Regions from separate parts of the Homo sapiens genome. Here region 1 is linked to region 2. Evidence: promoter capture Hi-C in 16 types of primary human blood cells and fetal thymus (Javierre and others, 2016). All regions are on one chromosome and are shown on one strand. The core of a region is centred on a gene start or on the middle of the fragment in contact, and the rest is flanking DNA. Distances in the headings are between cores, read along the strand shown. Region 1 overlaps RUSC2 (RUN and SH3 domain containing 2). Region 2 holds the start of DNAJB5 (DnaJ heat shock protein family (Hsp40) member B5).

Region 1 (3,874 bases), core at 501-3,000, 560 kb after region 2:
ACCCTCAAAAGAGACAGAAGAATTAGGACAATAGAAGAAAAACCAGGAGAGGCCGGGCATGGTGGCTCATGCCTGTAATCCTAGCACTTCGGGAGGCCGAGGTGCGCGGGTCACCTGAGGTCAGGAGTTCACCAGCCTGACCAACATGGTGAAACCCCATCTCTACTAAAAATACAAAAATTAGGTGTGGTGGCGGGTGCCTGTAGTTCCAGCTACATGGGAGGCTGAGGCAGGAGAATCGCTTGAACCTGGGAGGCAGAGGTTGCAGTGAGCCAAGATTATGCCACTGCACTCCAGTCTGGGTGACAAAGTGAGAGTCCGTCTCAAAAAAAAAGAAAAACCAGGAGAGAGTGAAGTCACAGGAACCAAAGGAGGAGAAAGTTTAAAAAAAGTTTGAACCAAAAGAGTTCTAAAGAGAAATCACCTAAGATAATGAAGAATCCTGAAGGCAACATTCAGGAGTAGTGAGAGTGGAAGCCAGATCTCAGAGGGTTTAGAAGGAAAGGGAGGTAAAGCAGGGATAGCAGAGGCTCACAGCTGTGCTGTAGCCTTAGGTTGGGTCTGTTGGCTTCACAAAAGAAAATGTTTTAAAACCATAAATAATATCTGTGCTGTCAGGGAGATCACAGTCCATCAGAAGACTTCATGTTCCTAACATACACTGAAGAGCTGTCCTTGGGGTGGGCATGGGAGGGAGATCTCTAGGGAAGGGGCAGGATCAGAAACAGCAAGGATTGACTGGGTCCTTTGAACCCACTCCCTTAGACTGCAGTGTCTGTCTGCTGGGTGCATCTCGTGGGATACTATGACTGGCATTCTGAGGGCAAGAAATATCCTGGTCAGAGATGTGTTTTCTCTATCAGATTAAGACATATCAACATGCTGCTCTGTTCCATAAGTCTCCAGTCTTCTCTTGATTCTGTACAGCTTTTTTCTAAATCAAAAATGAATGACAATTCATCAAGCTTTGAATGACAAAAGAAGGGACAGGTTGATCCAATCTAGGAATGACAGTATAGGAAGCTGAGAAGGTCGGCTGGGCATGGTGGCTCACACCTATAATCCCAGCACTTTGGGAGGCTGAGGCAGGAGGATCACTTGAAGCCAGGGGTTTGAGACCAGCCTGGGCAATATAGTGAGACCCTGTGTCTACAGAAAAAAAAATTTAAAAACAGCTGGGAGTGATGGCACATGCCTGTAGTCCTAGCTACTCGGGAGGCTGAGGCAGGAGGATCGCCTGAGCCCAGGAGTTTGAGGCACAGTGAGCTATGATTGCACCACTGCATCCCAGCCTGGGCAAAAAGTGAGATCCTGTCTCTAAAAAAAATTAAAGTAGGCCAGGTGTGGTGGCTCATGCCTGTAATCCCAGCACTTTGGGAGGCTGAGGTGGGGAAATCATTTGAGGCCAGGAGTTCGAGACCAGCCTGGCCAACATGGAGAAACCCCATCTCTACTAAAAATACAAAAATTAGCTAGGCATGGTGGCGCACGCCTGTAGTCCCATCTACCCGGGAGGCTGAGGCACAATAATCGCTTGAACCTGGAAGGCGGAAGTTGCAGTAAGCTGAGATCACGCCACTGCACTCCAGCATGGGTGACAAAGTGAGACTCTGTCTCAGAAAAAAGTAAATTAAAAAATAAAAATAAAAAAGGCAGCTGAGACGGCTCTTTGAGATACTGAGCAGCAGAATCAAGATTTAAAGGGATCTTACTGAATCTTGAAAGAACAAAACTAATAAAGCAGAGACCAATGTGAAGTTTGATATGTAACCTGCACTTGAGTTGATTTGGGATATTTGATTGCAAACTCAGATTGAGTCAGCAGTTGGTAGAGCTTCCAAAAAGTTAAGATGACTGGATTCATTCATAGACTCCAGAAAGAAAGAGTGGATAGTCTCTCACTCCTCCGAACCAGTGAGTGCTCAGTGGTATTCCATTGAGTTCTGGGTACCACATCTTAAGAAGGAACTGAGGAACTGGGGGACTGGGGCTATTTAACCTAGAGAAAAACTGACTCGGGTGAATACGGTCTCTGTCTCTGGTTTTCTTAATGAATGTCACATAGAAAAGTGAGAAAACTTATTCTGTGTATTCCCTGAGGGTAGAACTAAGACCCATTCCCCACAGGGGCCCCCTTCTTACCTGATCTTATTCCTCTGCCTCAGTCTGTATCCTGGGAACTTAGCAGAGAGGAGTTTTAAAAGGGTAGGAATAAGCAGTCTAATTCAGACATACTTTGTATAGGGGGTATAATAATGCTGTGGTTGGGATGACCTAATCCGATAGCCAGAGTCAGCTCAGCCTTGAAAACTGATACTTAAATAGGCGGAAAGGAAGGACACATTCCTGATGGGAAAAGCAGTGGGCTTCATGACAGGGATGGACTGGGAAGAGTAGGGTCAGTGGGGGCAGGTGTGGAAGTCTGAAGGGAGAGCAGCCTAGCTCGTAGCAGGTGTGGGCAACTAGCTCACTGAGAAGATTAGACTTTATTCTGGGAGATAAAATTTGTATCTCAGAAGCTAGTTGGTGTATGTAAGAAGCTTCTGGTTGTAGTGAGACTGGCTTGAATCAAGAGTGACCGTGGAGATTCCCTCATTTAACAGATGGTTTTTCACTCCATACTGTGTGCCAGCCTCTGTTCCAGGCATTATGGATCCAGCAGTGAACAATATAAAATCCCCACTTTTCTGGAGCTCTTAGGAGCAGTAATGGACAATAAACACATTAAAAGGACAACTTTTAATTGCTGGAAAGTTCAACAATGCTGAAAAGAAAATGAAACAGGGTAATGGGATAGAGAGCAACTTGCCAGAGGGGCTGACGTAGTCAGAGAAGGTCTTATTGAGGGGGTGATATTTGAGCTGATGCCTGAATGGTGAGAAGATTCAGACAGAAAGAAAAGCAGGTGCAAAAGGCCCGGAGATGTTCATGCATCTGGTGTGTTTAAGGACGGGGAAGTGTGGCTGGAGCACAGTGGGCCAGGGAGAATGCAGAGTCTGTGTAAGCAGTGACTGGGTATAGCAGGAGGGTGGAGCTTGAAAGTGTCCCCTGGGAGTGATTCAGAAGCACCTCCCTAATGGGATTGTGGTCCCCATCCCCTCTGACTCTTTGATGTAAATAAGATGAGGGATAGGAAAACCTGGCCTGATACAATTTCACATGTAGTACAATGTGGTAAAAAGAACAGTGGCTCTGAAATCAGACTCTGGGTTAGGCAGAATTCTAGCTCTGCCACTTCCTAGTTGTTTGACCTTGAGCAAGTGCTTTAATCTGTCTACATTTCACATTTCCTAATATGTCAAGTAAGAGAACTAATTCCCGCCTCGCAGAGCTACTGAGCCCCACTGCTGGTGAGCTTTCACCAGGGCTTTAGGCCGGGTGCGTGCTTATAGCGCCATCTTACGTTTATTCGGAGATCTACAGTGTTTTGTTGGAAGTGCAGTCCATCCACTGTCCCACTCCAGTGTCCTGGAGTTTTGTGTTTAGTTCTGAGCACCACGTTTTGAAGGACATTGACCTGAAGACTGCCTGAAAGAACAGGAGAGGCCCAGCCTTGGGGAACATACCTCCGTTCAGGGGGAGCAAATGTGGACTCTGAGGTTCCAATGCCAGGATCGTGAAAAGAGTGGGAGTGGGGGTAGATACAGATAACAGGTAGGCTGCAAGTAAAGAAATATCTTACTATGGTTCGATATGCTCAGGAATGAAATGTGCTGGCATGATTGGAGATGGGATAATGAGCAAAAGCTTGAAGTCAGTAACATCTGAAACATTTTCATCACTGAAAATGTGTGTGACTGTGACTCCAAGACTTAGAAACAAAGAAAATGGTTCTGCCATTGATAGAAATGGAAGTCATCGGAAAAAAGGAGAA
Region 2 (3,975 bases), core at 164-2,663:
GCAGTTTCTAGCAAGACCTCATGGGTGTCCAAACTCTGTCTCTGGAAAATAGGAAAGAAAGAAGTAAAGGGGAGCTTCCGGCCTGACCCTTCTATCATCATCAACCCCCCAGCACTCCCCTCCCCCACTTCACCCCCAAATTACTCCCTCCCCACCCCCGCTCCCTCGAGCACAGATGGGCCTGGGAGACAGTGACGTGGGCGCCAGGCACCGTGTCTGCTGGAGTGGCGGCTTCCGCTGGCGACCGCCTCCGCAGCCCCGCCTGCTCCCTGCATCGGGGACACTGGGGCTGAGATCTAATGACTTAATGGGGGGTGGGGGAGACTAGAGATTCTGAGGGTGTTAAGGAAGGGGATCTTGGGGAGTGAGATGAAAGATGAAAGGGGAGAGCTAGGATAGGAGATCGGGGTGTAAAGAAAGAACCAAGAATAAGACAAAAGGGATCACTGCGGGAAGGAAGACAGGAGATCATCTAGGGCCAAGAAGGAAAGGGCTAAAACACAGGCACTCCAGGGGGAAGCAGGATGAGAGACTGATTAGAAGAGGGACTGAAATGGAGACCGCGGGGTCGCTGAAGAGGGGCGCGAGGATGAGGGGCTGTACAGAGGGTGGGCGGGGGAGATTCCTGGAGGCACCGGCCTGGGCAGAGCCATCCGTTTCCCTCGGGGGAGAGGTCCGGGGGGCTCTGAAACCCGGCATCCGTGGGGTCTGTTAGAGATTCCGTTAGGTCACATCAGGCCACCGCGGGGTCAGGATAAGGTAAAGCTAAATGAGGTCAGCTTGAGGTGGTTACACCGTTGGCTGAAAGGCGAGTAAGAAGTGCTGACCTTTTGGCCCCGGTCCAGGGACTACACCTCCCAGAGTGCACTGTTCTCTCCCTCTTGCCCCCCAATGAAGAAAGGAAAGAATGCACGGCCGCACGGCCAACTGGTGGGTACAGTTTTCCTTTAAGGCTGCCTTTGACGTCGCAAGGGTTCCAGAAGGTTCTCCTGGGATTCGAGCAGTGGCCAGTACGTCCCACCTTCTCAACCCGGAGATTGGACTAATATAGTTTGCCCCCGGGCTCGGGTCTGAGTCTCAGGCACGAACCAATAAAATCAAAGGGCGAGCGAGGTTGCCGCCCTCTGTCTTTTTCACCAATGGCACGACAAGATGGCAAAGAGGCGTGGTTGAGTGATCCCAGAGGGCGCCAATCAGATCCACACCAATCACTGCCTGGAATGTGTGCGCGTGTGGCCGGGTGACAGGGGCGGAGGATGGGCGGCTATCACCAAGCCGCTTGTTGAAAACTGCCCAATCACAGTGGAGGCTGAGCTGAGTGACAGGAAGACGGTTCAATGGGCGGCGCGGAGGCGGAGCCGTGGGGGCGGGCTCCCGGTCCCGCTATCGGCGGCCGGCGGGCAGGCGACTCCTGTCCCGGGTGGAGGCGGCGGAGCCGGAGCCGGGGGAGGGGGCAGCGGCTGTCTCACGGACCACGGCGGCGCCCGCAGCTCCTCACCGGTGAGGGCGCCAAGCCAGGACTCGGGGGTCCCGGGAGCGGGGCGTCGTGAAGCCAGGGCTCCTGGTGTTGGGGGGTTGGGACACTGAGGGCCCGTAGGCTCTGCTGCCTTGGGGATGCGGGGCCCCGGGGTCTGCAGGGTGCTCGGAGTCCTAGACCAGGGCTTGGCTGTCACAGGGGGCAGCCAGCGTCTGAGTCGGGGAGGGGAGGGGAGGGGAGGGTCGAGTCGGACCGGACCAGATTGGGTTCTGTGGGGCGGAGGCATCTGTGAGCAGACCAGCCAGCCAGCGCGGGTGACATCACCGACCACCCTCCCCCGCCCGAGCCCCCTCCCCTCCTCTCCTCGCCGCGCCTTTTGTCCCGGCCGAGCTCCGCTCTGCCCCGCCCATCTGCGAGGGAGGAGACTCCCGTCAGTGACTTCATTGAGTAGGTTCTTGGGGATTGGGGTCGGGTCCTCCCCAGTGAGAGGCGACAGGAGCTCACTGCCTCTCGGGCCCTCACAATCACACCTGTCACAGGTATACACGCTGCCACTCACAAACACACGCTTGCACTCCCAGCCTCACTGACACGCTGCCATACAGCCGCTCACAGCCAGCCAGACACTGCTGCACCTGAGAGCAGGTGGCCGCGGGTCTTCTCCCTTCACTCTCCACATTTGGGGATCAGGTCCGGCACCTGCTGCGCCAGACAGGCCTTGCTGGGCACGCGCCTCTGAGAGTCCAAGGAGGTGGCTTCCAGAGCTGCAGCACTTCAGGCCGGCTCCGGTGGAGCGATCAGAGGTGAGGGGCTTGGCTGGGCATGTTTAAGCGCACAGTGCTCTCCTGCCCACCCCCAGCAGCACCCCCACTGCAGGCCCGAGGAGCTTTCCGGAGCTTCCCACACTCCTGGGGAGAAGACTTCTTAGCCAGCTTGATGTTTAAAATTCAGCTGGAGCCCTTAAAACTTCGAGCGTGGACGCTGAATGGGTTTGTAAAGTTTCGGTAAGTCCCTCCGGAGAAGGGCACTCACACCCATACCCAGTCAAACCCTCCACGCGGCCATCCCCTCCATTGCCTTCCTGCTTCCTCCAACTCATCCTCATCCCCTCTGTGACATACAGGAACCCCCCTCCGGCCTCACCCACATATTTGAATGAATTGCACCCCTTATCATTCCTTTTCTCAAACCCTTCAGGTATCCATTTTCCACAGACATTTCCTCCATTATTTCAACTCTCCACATTCCTCCCTTTCAACCCATCATTAACCCATTTTCCACCTCAGCCATTTCCATCTGTCACTCATCCCCCTCCATCAGTACCTCATTTTCTGTATCAGCCATCTCCCCTCCCTGTACCTCAACAGTCCCCCTCGCCATTTTCTCCCCATTTTTCCTTCCTGCCTCTACCTTAACATCCTCCTCATTCTTCTCCATCAAAGGCAGTGCCATGCCATGGGGCTCCTTTGTCATTCCAACACGTGGCCTGTGGGTAGGGGGGAAGGGAAGGAGGGAGGAAAGCAGAAAGAGAAAAAGGAGGCAGATCCTGAAAGAGCTTGCCCTGTGTCTGCGGAGGCAAGAGATGTATGGGCCTAGAGCAGCTAGCAGGTGGGTACCAGGGAGGAAGCTGGCCGGGTGTGGAGGTAATGCAGGGACACCAAAAGGAGGTGGGTGGTTGGTGAGCCGTTCCACTGGCCCTCTGCCTGGAAGCTGCTCTCGTTCTCTAGGGGCACCCTCTTGGTGTGCTAGGGTTCTTTCCCAGTCCCAGGGGAAAGAAGGTGTGGGTTGAGGCAGAAATGGCAGACCACCCCCCCCCGCTCCCTCTCAGACGGCTTTTGCTGCCATTTCCGAAAACGGTTGCCCCCCCCCCCAACGAGGTGCTCTTTCTTCTCTGCCTCTCCCAACCCCACCCCCCACCCCATCTCCCCCACAGACGTGACATGCTGGTGGGGGGCAATGGGGGAGTACCCGCCTTTGTGGAGCCTTTTCTTCGTCAGAGAAAGGTGACTCCCAGAACCATGAGTCAACCCAGCCACCTGCAGCAGGGCCTGTGGGGGCAGCAGTGAGGGCCATTGTCCCTGCCCACCTAGGGCCTTGGGCGCCTCCCCCTTACCCGGTTACAGGCCTCACTCCTGGAAGGACACCCTGTACACCTCCCTGCTGTGAAGCAGTCAGAGGCAGAAAGGCAGGTCTCAGCTGTGGCTGCCAGCCTAGGACATTGCTAGAAAGACTCTGGTTCTCCTGGCTTTGGCAGGGGTTGGCCAAGTCTCAGAAGGGCTGAGAATGGCTTCTGGCCATCCCCCAGAGAGCTCTAGCTACAGGAAAGTCCCCCTTCCCCTGATATCCACCACAGACACACCGATAGAGGGAGACTGGAATGGAAGAATTCGGGTTGTACGTTTCTCTTATAACAAATGCTCCTGCACCCACCTTAAAAGGGACTCAGAGGAATATGGGTCTGATGATGGGCCGGATCCTAAACCACAGGGTGGACTGGG

The links. Contacts are between HindIII fragments. The CHiCAGO score rates a contact against its expected background, and 5 or more counts as called.
Region 1: a contact is called between a fragment that was not itself captured here and the fragment with the promoter of DNAJB5 in region 2, in 1 of 17 cell types (erythroblasts). The highest score is 5.0, in erythroblasts.

What each region holds. Positions count from the first base shown.
Region 1 is chr9:35,550,744-35,554,617 of GRCh38, forward strand. The region is part of intron 2 of RUSC2 (RUN and SH3 domain containing 2); the gene reads left to right. Among named protein-coding and RNA genes, the nearest start is that of CIMIP2B, 11 kb to the right of the region's middle. The HindIII fragment of the contact is 1,575 bases long and covers 964-2,538 here.
Region 2 is chr9:34,988,332-34,992,306 of GRCh38, forward strand. It overlaps DNAJB5 (DnaJ heat shock protein family (Hsp40) member B5), which reads left to right and starts at 1,414. Exons shown (of 5, transcript NM_001349723.3): 1 at 1,414-1,500; 2 at 2,168-2,481. The coding sequence starts at 2,300. It overlaps DNAJB5-DT (DNAJB5 divergent transcript), which reads right to left and starts at 1,048. Exons shown (of 2, transcript NR_109756.1): 1 at 828-1,048. RefSeq lists enhancers at 835-1,044, 1,599-2,528, 2,529-3,458 and silencers at 1,155-1,654, 1,169-1,317. The HindIII fragment of the contact is 19,763 bases long and covers 1-3,975 here.